Linked DNA regions of Homo sapiens: regions 1, 3 and 4 are each linked to region 2. Evidence: promoter capture Hi-C in 16 types of primary human blood cells and fetal thymus (Javierre and others, 2016). All regions are on one chromosome and are shown on one strand. The core of a region is centred on a gene start or on the middle of the fragment in contact, and the rest is flanking DNA. Distances in the headings are between cores, read along the strand shown. Region 1 overlaps HECW2 (HECT, C2 and WW domain containing E3 ubiquitin protein ligase 2). Region 2 holds the start of LINC01827 (long intergenic non-protein coding RNA 1827). Region 3 overlaps STK17B (serine/threonine kinase 17b). Region 4 overlaps HECW2 (HECT, C2 and WW domain containing E3 ubiquitin protein ligase 2).

Evidence for each region. Contacts are between HindIII fragments. The CHiCAGO score rates a contact against its expected background, and 5 or more counts as called.
Region 1: a fragment that was not itself captured here is called in contact with the fragment with the promoter of LINC01827 in region 2 in 1 of 17 cell types (non-activated CD4 T cells); the score reaches 5.8 in non-activated CD4 T cells.
Region 3: a fragment that was not itself captured here is called in contact with the fragment with the promoter of LINC01827 in region 2 in 2 of 17 cell types (non-activated CD4 T cells and M2 macrophages); the score reaches 6.1 in non-activated CD4 T cells.
Region 4: a contact is called between a fragment that was not itself captured here and the fragment with the promoter of LINC01827 in region 2, in 1 of 17 cell types (non-activated CD4 T cells). The highest score is 5.6, in non-activated CD4 T cells.

What each region holds. Positions count from the first base shown.
Region 1 is chr2:196,208,816-196,212,221 of GRCh38, reverse strand. The region is part of intron 28 of HECW2 (HECT, C2 and WW domain containing E3 ubiquitin protein ligase 2); the gene reads left to right. Among named protein-coding and RNA genes, the nearest start is that of STK17B, 39 kb to the right of the region's middle. RefSeq lists an enhancer at 447-496. The HindIII fragment of the contact is 9,346 bases long and covers 1-3,406 here.
Region 2 is chr2:195,572,608-195,575,884 of GRCh38, reverse strand. It overlaps LINC01827 (long intergenic non-protein coding RNA 1827), which reads left to right and starts at 1,392. Exons shown (of 2, transcript NR_187191.1): 1 at 1,392-1,561. The HindIII fragment of the contact is 2,770 bases long and covers 1-2,534 here.
Region 3 is chr2:196,164,203-196,167,416 of GRCh38, reverse strand. All of the region lies in intron 1 of STK17B (serine/threonine kinase 17b), which reads left to right. Among named protein-coding and RNA genes, the nearest start is that of STK17B, 5.8 kb to the left of the region's middle. RefSeq lists an enhancer at 187-256. The HindIII fragment of the contact is 905 bases long and covers 834-1,738 here.
Region 4 is chr2:196,192,465-196,195,454 of GRCh38, reverse strand. HECW2 (HECT, C2 and WW domain containing E3 ubiquitin protein ligase 2) reads left to right here. Exons shown (of 29, transcript NM_001348768.2): 29 at 1-1,383. Among named protein-coding and RNA genes, the nearest start is that of STK17B, 22 kb to the right of the region's middle. The HindIII fragment of the contact is 1,437 bases long and covers 684-2,120 here.

The sequences.
Region 1 (3,406 bases), core at 830-3,329, 640 kb before region 2:
CTGAACTTAAAATTAAAAAAAAAATTACATTGCACACATGGGAGAAAAATGGATAGATGTCCTTCTTACTTAAAAAATGAATCCTGGCTGGGCATGGTGGCTCACACCTGTAATCCCAGCACTTTGGGAGGCCAAGGCGGACGGATTGCCTGAGGTCAGGAGTTTGAGACCAGCCTGGCTAACATGGTGAAACCCTGTCTCTACTAAAAATACAAAAATTACCTGGGCGTGGTGGCATACGCCTATAGTCCCAGCTACTCGGGAGGCAGGAGAATCGCTTGAACCCAGGAGGCAGAGGTTGCAGTGAGCCGAGATGGCAATGCTGCACTCCAGCCTGGGCGACAGAGCAAGACTCTGTCTCAAAAAGAAAAAAAAAGAATCCTCTAAGAAGTCTGGCATGGTCTTGTGTCGGGCATGGGAGTTTCTGCCCTGGAGGGTTGGAGGGGCTGTAAAGGATGAGGGCAGTCCTGGCAACCGGAGCAATGAGGGAGAGAATCTTAGTCTTTCTAGACAAGGATGATGGAGGGCCTTTCAATTTTCAAGCAGGCAAATGTGAGTCTCATTCTTTTCTCAGATTTCCTAGTCTCACTTTGCGGTAGCAGTGGATAGCGCTGCTCACAGTATGAGTCAAGGAGTATATAAAAGTATATATGGTTGTCTCTGCAGCCAGTGCAAGTTGAATCCATGGCTCTTTTTTCCTCTTGTGGTTATGAAGTGACTAGAGACCCAGATGATAAATAAGGATGTAGACAGAAGGGTGTCTCCATGGAGACCTACAGCCTGAGCACATGACTGCACTTCCTCTGCTTCGCGGTCGGTGGTTAGCTCTGTATTTTGCATTTCTGTGGAAGACTTCATACCCCTGGTGCTCTGATGGACTTTATGAAAAGAGAGTACATTCACTTTGTGGCAATTGCTCTCAAACAGTCCAAAAAATGCGCTGCTAAGATGCCAGCCTGAAAACTGCAGAGCAGTCCTGTCTCCCACCATGGTGTGAGTTTCTGTGTTCATCCCCCAGGTTCTTGCCAAGTTGGGTGATGGGACGGAGGACCTGAGAGCTGCAATCGTCATGGGGGTGTGTTGGTTATTGCCAAAGGGAAAAGCGTTAATTTTTGAAAATGGCTGTGTCTGGAGATTATTATGAATGAAATGCTAACTGAAATTAAGAAATAAATTGTAAGAGTTAATTATGAAATAGATGTCTTATGGAGACAGTTAATCTAATGGAATAGAACTTTAAAAGATAAAATTATTTTTTAAAAACATAACAACTTTTTGTTTTTAAAATTCTGCTTTTTGGCAGAGTGCAGTGGCTCACACCTGAAATCCCAGCACTTTGGGAGTCCAAGGCAGGCAGATCACTTGAGGTCAGGAGTTTGAGACCACCCTGGCCAATATGGTGAAACCCCCATCTCTACTTAAAAAAAAAAAAATACAAAAATTAGCCAGGCATGGTGGTGTGCACCTGTAATCCCAGCTACTCGGGAGGCTGAGGCAGAAGAATCACTTGAACCCAGGAGGTGGAGGTTGCAGTGAGCCAAGATCATGCCACTGCACTCCAGCCTGGGTGACAGAGTGAGACTCCATCTCAAAAGAAAAAAAAATCTGCTTTTTATTCTAATTTATAAAAAGAAAATTTTACAAAAAATTGCTAAGAAATATATGTATATATTAAATATATATTAAAATACCTACATATGTATCAATCCAATGTCCACCCAATGTCCACTACTAGCTGGTCATGGTGGTGCATGCTTGGAGTCCCAGGTACTTGGGAGGCTAAGGCTTGAGCATGGGAGTTTGAGTCAAACCTGAGCAACATAGAGAGATACCATTTCTGAAGGAAAAAAAAGTCAATTACTAAGATAAGCTCTGTTAACATGTTAGAGTATGTGATTTCACTCATTTCTTCAGGTACACACAGGCACACAGACACACACATACACACACACACACATTTTAAAACAACATTCCGTTTATCACATGGAACATCTTTCCATGTCATTAAATATTGCTCTGTAATGTTATCAATAATTCAGTTTTCCCTCCTCCATTATAGGGAGCATTGTCTACTGTCAAAGTGAATTATCAGCCAGTATACCGGAAAATAACCAAGTCCTGAAATACAATGTCACTTTCCTCAATTAAAAGAAAAACCAGGCTGGGCACAGTGGCTCACGCCTGTAATCCCAGCACTTTGGGAGGCCAAGGTGGGCAGATCACGAGGTCAGGAGATGGAGACCATCCTGGCTAACATGGTGAAACCCCGTCTCTACTAAAAATACAAAAAGTTGGCCGGGCGTGGTGGTGGGCGCCTGTAGCCCCATCTACTCGGGAGGCAGAGGCAGGAGAATGGCGGGAGCCCGGGAGGCGGAGCTTGCAGTGAGCCGAGATCGCACCACTGCGCTCCAGCCTGGGCGACAGAGCCAGACTCCGTCTCAAAAAAAAAAAAAAAAGAAAGAAAGAAAGAAAAACCATCAGAACAAGAGATGAGTACTAGAAGGACCCTTTGGGGCCATCTCCTTTCTATATTTGCCCTGAGGTGTCCCTCGTTGGTCTTCCTAATTCCCTACCGCCTGCTGATGAGCTGATGTGGCTTTTCGTGTGGGAGAGAATTGACAGGAGATTCTCATACAGTGGTCTGCTCTGTAGTTGAACCTCAGGTCCAAGACTCTCTTCAACTCCTTTCCCCTCTGCCCTCTCACTCAGTTCTATATAACTGTATTTTAAATTTTCACTTTATTCTGCCATTGAATCTGCATGTACTAACAAAAACATGCCAGAGTTAACCCATCACATCACCATATTAAAGATTCTTAAATGTCATATACCTTTTGGATTGGTCTTTACTTTGGGAGGTGGGTAAATTTATCATAAAAACAGATTGTATTAAAAAAAGGGACTCTTCTGTAATTAATGTAAAACGTCAAGCTATTGAAAGAATTTGTGACTTTAATGGAATGAGATAATCATTCCACTTGCATTCCATCAGCATTGTTGCTGCTGACAACAGAGGACAGGATAGTCCAAGTCAAATCTACTAAAGGTCCTTGAGAGCTATTTCACAAGTCAGATTTTAAAGTGTCTATTTGTGAGTGACAGACATTGCAACAGTTAAAGAATGCTTACCCACTTTTCCTTGGCCTCAAGAGCAAAAACCAGTTTGGGCTCATTTCTTTCCACCAGCCTAGTCCATGACACCATCCCCCCTCACCTGGACTACTGCAGTAGACTGCTGGCTAAATCCCCTGCTTCTCCTGCATCCCACCATTCATTCATTCTGCACTCAACAACCACTGGGATCTGCAAACATCTCAAGGTCACCTCCCTCCCTTGCCTACACCCTCTGGTGGCTTAGAATAAAATCCAGACTCCTTCCCAAGGACTTCCTGTGGGGCCCTGGTCT
Region 2 (3,277 bases), core at 143-2,642:
AAACAATCTGTGCCACATTAAAAATAATAACAATAAATAAACTTGGAAGTTCAAAGAGTAAAACTAAAACAGGGACTAAAGGAAATCATCTTTGTTTTTTGCAGCCAATGACTGTGCAGACCTGATGCTGTCTTGTTCTTGTACCAAATTCTCCTTGAAAATACCAGAGACCTCTCTCTGAATGGCCATAACATTATACCCTAAGGGAAATAATTTTCTCCAACATTTCTCATCTTTTGTAAACAGATGGCATATATATATTTAATATATATATTTATAGATATATTTATAGATATTTATATATATTTATAGATATATTTATATATATATTTAAAGAGAAAGAGAAATACCAACAGTCTGCCAACTGTGGAATTCTTATAGTCCGATAGTTTCTTTTTGGTTATTTTTTCACAACTAAATTAACTAGTGTTGCTGCCATAGATACATTTAAGAAAATCAGACACTTTGCTGCTTTTACATATATCTGTCTGAAACTCAGCAGGAATATTTCAGTTGCCTTAGAAAAATATCCAGTTAACAAACTTTGTGAAGTGAAAAGAAAACCTTATCAAAATCTCCAGCTTCAAGTACATTTAGTTGTTTTCTTTTTATTGTTGCTTACATGCTGTGATTGGAGCACAATATGTGGAAATTGCATAACCATTATTTCCACAAATCAAAGCTATTGAGACATGGGAAGGCCATGTGGAGCTGCTGCATGAAATGTTGGTTAAAAAAATTCCACTCTGCCTTTATATCTAAAGTCTTCCCTTCTTTCAGGTATCAATGGTTTCTTCAGTCGTAAGCATCACTAGGTTGTGTTTCGTTTGTTTAACTGCTTTTAAAATCAGAATTAGCCATAGGTCAAATAACATTTTTTGAAAAACATTTTCTCTATGTGTCTTATATTTTTCCTTAGTTCTACTTTGTTTTGTTATTTTTAATATTTTGGGGGTAATCTAGGCAAAGAGCTCTTAATTCTTAATGCATTAGAACCATCAAGAAACATTCAGTGCAATTTCCATGTCTCAGGGGAAAGTTTTGGTGTCCTCACCTCGATCCATTCCCAGGTTTATGGGGACTAGGGAGAATCCTTTCACTATTATTTTACATTTTAAAATATACCTAATCAAGTGCAGTGCAGTGCAGTGGTGTATGCCTGTGGTCCCAGCTGCTCGGGAAGCTCAGGAGAGAGCATCACTGGAACCCAGGAGTTTCAGTCCAGCCTGGGCAACACAGCAAGATCCCATCTCTAAAAAAAGAAAAGAAAGAAAAGAAAACAGTGGCCAGTCAGATGGCTATGTAGGTCAAAGACAGCCTGACTGAATCATATGAGAGGGAAGAAAAACACTTGTCATTCCTAGCTTTCTGTGTTCCTCTTTTGTTCCAGCAGAGCTTTGGTTGTACTACTCTAATACCCATACAACACTGCTTTCCTTAGAGCCACAGCTACTGCTGAGAACTCAAAAACTTCTTCCTTTCCGGTGAACACGTCTAGACTTGGGCTGGGGATGGGATGAAGATCTCTAACACCTTCCTGGAAATCAAGAAGTGCAAATAGGTAATTTTCCCTTTTTTTTTTTGAGATGGAGTCTCACTCTGTCGCCCAGGCTGGAGTGCAGTGGTGCAATCCGGCTCACTGCAATTCTCCCTGCTTCAGCCTCCTGAGTAGCTGGGATTACAGGTGCCCGCCACCACACCCAGCTATTTTTTTTAGTTTTAGTAGAGACGGGGTTTCACCGCATTGGGCAGGCTGGTCTCGAACCCCTCACCTCAGGTAGATCCGCCTGCCTCGTCCTCCCAAAGTGCTGAGATTACAGGTGTGAGCCACCGTGCCCAGCCTGGTAATTTTCTTAAGAGAGAAATAATGCTTTGTTTTGAGATGTTCTGCTGGGGTATTCTGGTAGCTCTTTCAGTGCTTAAACTCATTCCGAGTCTGCACAAATGGCATAATATTTAGCTGTGCTTTGACACTCTTCAGCACCTGGAATATAATGAGCATAAATATCTTTTTAGGTTTCTAGATCAAAGATTGTTTTCTTCTATAATGTTTCTCCTCAAAGAAGTGTTTCACTGTTCTGTAAAGTAAATTTCAGAGATTATAAGGCCAAAATAGCGATTATAGCAAAAGTCTATGATCAGTTACATTGTCTAATTTTGAATTACAGTGGCAGCTTTTCTTTTATCTTTAAATTTGGTGCCATTTCTTCCTATCATTTCCACCCCTGGGATTTTTCTGGTTAGAGATGTATATAATTGCCTTTCTGCCCACATTCCCTTCTAAAAGAATCTGTTCCCCTGCTGAACAGATGGGCCTAGTCATCTATGTTTATATCATATGACCCTACTCCCTGGTTATGATGATTGGACCAGGGTGGGGAGACCTACTCTGAGAGTCGATCCATAGGTTAGGCCAAGCCAACTAGATGATATTGTTTGAAAAAATTTCACTGAGACACAAAAGTCATAGTTAAGTGATGAGAATTGGAGTTGTCGGGTCACAGGTATTTAGTGTGAGACCTCTATGGCAAGCTTCAGCTACATGAACATTAAATTATGAGGGAACCCAAAGTAAAATCCTTACATGTGGAGCCAGCCTACAAGAGCAACCTAGAATAGACATGCAGAGAGAAGCAGTAGCAAGAGCTTACACTGACATTTGTAAAATCCCTTCTCACCATCCAGAGCCTTTTCTACTTTAAACAAACAGTATGTTTTTGAGCATGGCTTGGGCTGGATTGCCCACCTCCAGAGAACCTGTTTGTCTTACACTAATCAGCATTATTACATCATTCTGTCCATGTGACTGATTCAGAGTAGGCATGTGAACCATTAATGGACAATAAAGGAGACAGTTGCTGGAGTTTTGTTTGTTTTTTTTTTTTTGTTTTTGAGACTGGGTTTCGCTCTGTCATCCAGGCTGACGGGCAATGGCGGGATCATGGCTCAGTGCAGTTTCGATCTCCTGGGCTCAAGTGGTCCTCCCACCTCAGCCTCCCAAGAAGTTGGGACCACAGGAGGGGGCCACCATACCCGGCTAATTTTTTTGATGTTTTGTAGATATAGGGTCTCCCTATGTTGCCCAGGTTGGTCTCTAACTCCTGAGCTCAAGTGTTCTGCCCACTTCAGCCTCCCAAAGTGCTAGGGTGAAAGGCCTGAGTCACCACTGCCAGCCAATTGCTGAAGTTTTTGGAAAAGAAAATTCTTGTCTGATCCATGGGAGTTGCTTCAAAGGTACTCTCTGCTTTTGTAGATATGAACTAGGAAGCATGTAACT
Region 3 (3,214 bases), core at 37-2,536, 590 kb before region 2:
ATACCTACAAATTCTTTTTTCTATATCTCATAATTCTTACAATTCAGTTCATCAAACATTTTTAAAATTCCTACCGGGTGGCAGATACCATGCTGGTTGCTTAGGCACAAAAGTAAAAGGATGCTGCCCTTTAAACACTGAACAGAATTGCAATCTAACATGTTACATTTTGAGGTAAAGAAGTATGCCAAGGATCCTCTTATTTGAAGCATAAAGGAGAAGCCTTTAAATCAGCCTGTGGTTTTTAGGCAAAGCTTCCTGGGGGAGAGGCCATTCTGTGTTGAGTTTTGAAGGATGTGTAAGAAGAGTTAGCCATTTAAGGAAAGTAGAAAGGCTTTTTCAGGCAAAGAAGTATAACAAAGATGTGGTGGCAAAATATGAAATATGAGTGCGGCAGGAAATGTAGCTGGTGTATACTTGGCCTCAGAGGCCTTTATGTGTCATGCTGTAAGTACTTGAAAGCTTGTAGATACTGGGGAGCTAATGAAGGAATCAAAACAGACAATTTGATTTTCTAAATGTCTTTATTATTGTATATTCTATTTTTTAAAAACTTTCTTATTTGATAATTTTGAAATAAATATCATGATAAATACTTTTTAAAATAGAGCTAGAGGTTTATAGAGATAGTCTTGCTTTTGTTCACATCACACTTGCTTTCTGCATTCAAGTAAGTGAAGGCCCAGATCAAGCCTAACATTTCCTTCTTTTCCTTCCTTCACTGATCTACTTCCAAATTCTTTTGGTAATTATTATAATGAGAATTAATGAAAAAAATCTTTAAAAATAAGTGAGATACCATTATTTGTAGTAGTACTGTGTGATTAAAAGCTTAATTGTGTCTTACCTTCTATTACACTTTTTATAGGATCTAATCGTGTATACACATGCATATAAATTTACTTACCAGGTCCCTTAAGATTTTTTTTAAATGCTATAACCTGATAAAATGTTATGAAATGAATTTCAAATGGAGTGAGACATATAGGTAATTTAGAATCGGTAATATGAAGTGTGGTAGAAGACAAGAAAAGGCCTGGGAATTGTTGGAGTTAAAGAGAATTTGGTGGGAAATTTAGGAAGATACAAGAAGGAGCGACAGAGAGCTGACTCATAACCTGCATGTACCTTATATGAAGGGCAACCAGATGTTTGAGGAGGGCTTGGTGGACAAAGGTGACATTCATGCTCCACTATATGCAAAACTGGCCAAAGGAGAGGAAATGGAAAAATATCTTGGCTCTGACAATTGGTTCAGATGCAGTAAATAAAAGGAAAATGAACTTAAGAAATGCTTAATGGATGCCTAAAGCAGCTTGTGATGTAGGTATATTTTTAATAAATAGATGAACTTATGAGGAAATTGGTACCCATATTGATCTTTCAGAACAATGGAAAAAAATCAGTGAAACTGAGCGCTATCAGAACTAAGAAGATACATAAGTAGTTAAAACAGAAAACAAAAATACTTTTAAGAATGAAGTTTAGACTAAGTTGGGATGAGAATTTTGTACATGGAAACAGTACAGCTGTTCAACAATGGCAGGGAACTGCAGGGAGAGTATTTTTGGGTAGAATGTTAATTTTGTTTTGTGGAACAATAGCGATATGCCCTTGTGACTTGCACTGTACCTGTGTCAGTGGACATGAGTTCAGCATATTTTAATTTTTAATCCTTGCAGCACTGGAAGATCAATTCTTTTATCATCCATACTTTAGAGGCAGCAAAATCGAAGCTTTCTTCACCAGTAAAAGGGAATGCGAAGTAAATCACAACAAAATTCCATTTCACCTTCATCACACTAGAATAGCCAAACTTAAAAGTCTGAATTGGGCAAGTATTGTCAAAGTAGTGATAAACCGTCCCATCCAGTGCTAGTGGGAGTGTAAACTGGGGGTGGAAAGAAGGGGCTATGTCTAATATGTTTTATTTTTAATTTAAATGAAATATGACCAAGTAATAAGATTGGAAAGTAAATGTTTGTATATAGTGTTCCTTATCTTACATTTGAAATATTATATATTTTGTTTTCTTTTTAAATAACTGTGTTGCCGCAGATCAGGCGACTTAACAGAAGTATATTTTCTCAACGATTCTGGAGGCTAGAAATCTGGGATCAGGGTGTCTGCGGGGTTGGTTTCTTCTGAGGCCTGCCCTCTTGGCTTGTAGATGGCTGCCTTCTCCTAGTGTGTTCACATAGTCTTTCCTCTGTGTGTGTCTGTGTCCTAATTGGCCCACTTTAATGACCTCATTTTAACTTAATCACCTTTTTAAAGGCCCTGTCTCCAAAGACAGTCACATTATGAGATACAGGGGTTAGGGTTTTTCAACTTAGGAATTTGGGGGAGGACACAATTCAGCCCATAACAATAGCAAAGTTAAATAATTTAATTAAGGTCTCATAGCTGGTATGATGGATGAATGGAATTCAGACCCAGGTGTCTTTCAGTCTAAAGGTTATTCTCAGAATGCTACACTACAACCCTTTGACTCCTAGAGATGTACCCCAAAACTAGTTAGAGCTGTTTCCCCAAAGACTAAGAGATGTAGAGAAAACAATTTTACTATCTAGTTATGTGAAAGCTATAATTTTAATTTAATTTTTTGAGACAAGGTCTCCATCTATCGCCCAGGCTGAACTGCAGTGACGCGTTCATAATTTGAGAATAACACCAAGAAGAGAAAATGTAGAAACTGAAAACGCTGAACTCTAATGACACTGCTTTTTGGCTAAGTAGACTATAGTTGGCATTTGAATTTAAGAAGATAAAGAACAGTACATATAAGTAGAAAATAGGAAAAAAAGATGTCAGAGGAGGAACAAATGCTTAGCGGGTTACTACAGGAGGGTGCTAAAAGAATAATAATTGATATTTTATTAAGTAGGCATAGCAATAAGTCATAAGTGTCTTGAAATATAGTATCTGTTATTGTTTTATGAATGCAATTAATATAATAGTTTTGATAACACTGAATGCATATAAACATCACAAATTTCCAGATACATATATGAGCTTCAGATACAGAACTTCGAAATAAAGCTTTATGTATAGGTTAGTCACTCTTCCAACAAAATTATTGAGCACTTCATACATAGCAGGCTCTGTGCTAGGTCCTGTCAAAGGAGGGACTCTTAAGACCTTTGAGAGTTTCTGAGTTTAGTACTGAAACATAGCCAATCCGTGGAAGAAGTTCTATTTCTTGTAGTCCTTC
Region 4 (2,990 bases), core at 153-2,652, 620 kb before region 2:
AAGATGGCCCTAGTTGTATGGTTTCTGGGGAACACAGGAGAATTAAATTTATATATGTGATTTTTATGTGTAGTGCCCTTGGGCAGGTGATATCTTTCTATATGACTTTTAAGATATTACAACCTGAGGAGTGTGGATAGCCGTGTTGTGTGATTCAAACTGAATCAGCTATTACTGATGCAGGTAAGGAACCATCAGTCAACTTCTGGTTACTATCACCTTCATAAAAAAGAATGGATGATGTTCAGGAATTACCTTGGAAGGATTAACCAGGAATTAACACAGAATGGGATGTTCTTTTAGGACCCTAATGCTCTAAAAGATAAAATTACAACCTATTTTTCTTTATATGATAGCATAAGTAAAATTTGGGGCTGTTAATATGTTGGAAAGTGCTTAAAATTACATGTTTTTATAATAGGGATGCAGGCATTCCAAAATAAATGAATAAAAATACATGCATCTCTCTCGCCTCTTACTGAAAGTATTAATCTAATTTTATAGTAATGATTACTTTTTAATATTAAGGCTCTGTAAAAAAATTATTTCTAAGATTTCAGTAGAACACAGGTGGTGTATTTTTTTAAGCTTTTAATTTCTCTTCACCAACCTCAGTCATTACGTTCACCACACAGTGTGTCACAGTTAATAGTGGTATTTCAGTTTTTGCGTTGATTTAAGCTTCATATTTATTTAATGTGACTTTTGATGGAGAATAATAATGGGAGATGCTTGCTGTTAGCATTAAGGTTATACAGCTCTCACTTCACCTTATATGTAATTTTTTTTTCAAAGTAAATAATGCAGATTGTTGACATCCTAGAAATGGTTTCTGGGTGGTATTATATGGGGCCTAGGACTCTGAACTGGGACTAGTTGTTTATTTTCTGGGAAGTCTGTATTCTTATTCTCAACTGAACCCCTGACTCTTTTGTTGTATTTTTTATGATTCCGAAATGCTTTGAGGGAAAGATATTTTAATGTGTACAATTTGTTTTATTTTCATACTGATCTCTATTTTTGTTTAAAACCATGTTGCATCATGAAATCACTTAATCCAAAATAAATCTTCTTTAAAAAAAATAGATTATGACTTTTCTGTAATACTTTTGGGGAGGGAAAACTCAGAAGGGAGGAGAATAGAAGTAGAGATAAAGATTTCATGGCATTAGTTTGCAGCTCTATAAATATTGGAGGTTCTGTTTTCATAGTATTTATAGTATTTTGTTTATTTTTATTTATATTTTTATTATTTATTAATAAAATATTTGTTTATTTTGTTTGGAATCTACTTTGTTTATCCCTACAAGAATATTTTACTGTTTGATGGGCTGTTAATGTTAAAGGAATGAATTATAATACAAATCATAATTTCTTAACTCACATGGGTTGAGACTATTTGTTAAGCCATCTTATTTGAATGTTTAATTTATAAACACATAGGCACACCACTGCCGCCGCCACCACTACCACGCACATCAATTTAATCTAGGGGTCGCGTGTGCATATGCCTACAGGGACCAGATAGGTATTTAACGAGTGAAATTGGCTAGGTGGAAGCAACACACAGTGGTAGGGCTTACATAAAGGGACATTCTAATATTTTGCTCCAGCAGATCCTAGCCACATGAAATTCCAGTCTAGTGTTAAAAGATCTAATATATCAAGGGAAACCCAGAAACCCAAATTTTTGTGTGATATTTCCAGATCTTTTTAGTAGTGGGTGGATCAAACCAAATATAGCTACACATTGATTTGCCCTGCAGGTCACCAGTTTGGAACCCTTGTTTTAATGGATAACATTATCTTTTATATTTAGTTGACTAGTGGTGTAAATTGGCCAGATAAGTAAAATGTTACTAAAACACGGCAGTTAATAAAAAGAGATGGGGAATATATATATAGCGCCATATATATATGTGTGTGTGTGTGTGTGTATATATATATATCTCTACACACTATGAGGGCAGTCAATCACTAAGGGGTGCCCTTAAAATGATCTGTATTTAGCAACTCATGTTAATTTATATGAATTAACTCGTGAAAACCAACTTGTGTTAATTCATATGAGTTAAGAGCAACCCTGTCAAGATTTCATGGAATACGTGTGCCATTAAGCTTCTTATTACATATTTTACACTAGAAATGAACTTCATATATCACATGACAGCATTTAAGCAGAAGATTCATCTCCTATCACCGACTGAAGTCTGACATTGTTATTGAAGGGGGAAGAGGGGGAAGAGCAAGATACTGATTCACAGCACTGACTTCTGGCTTTTGTGCCATGACATCCCTCTGTATCCTTGGACCTCAGTGTGTTTTTAGAATGATAAATATATCTGCCTTCGTAATTTCCTTTAATCCTGAACCCCATTTAATTAGTGAGAGTTTAGTAACAAATAATAATGAATAATTCCCACTATCCACCATCCCAGGAAGTCTTTCATACTGTTCTTTATTTCATACTTAAACCAGTTAAAGACATTCTGGTTTAAGTATGAAGTAAAGTTTAAGTATGAAGTTGAAGTCTCTTCATACTTTTCTCCTCCTTTTCTTGCTCAAAAATGTTGACCCATTAACTACTTTTTTTCCCCTTCTAAATAGATACCTCATTTGTCAGCCAAAGTTAACTTTGGAATCGCAAGAATAAAGAAATGAGAACATCTGATAAAGATATAATGTTTACCTTGATACACATGAGTTTCACACACTTTATTTGTCCTATTATTTTCAAATCCTTGTATGGATAGATGCTTCCAAAAGATGTTTAATCACTGGTGTTTCACTTAGAAAGGAAAAGCTAGGGGCCAGGAGCAGTGGCTCAGGCCTGTAATCCCAGCACTTCGGGAGGCCGAGGCAGGTGGATCGCCTGAGGTCAGGAGTTCGAGACCAGTCTGGCCAACATAGTGAAACCCCATCTCTACTAAAAATACAAAAATTGACTGAGTGTGTTGGCCGGCGCCCGTAATCCCAGCTACTGGGGAGGC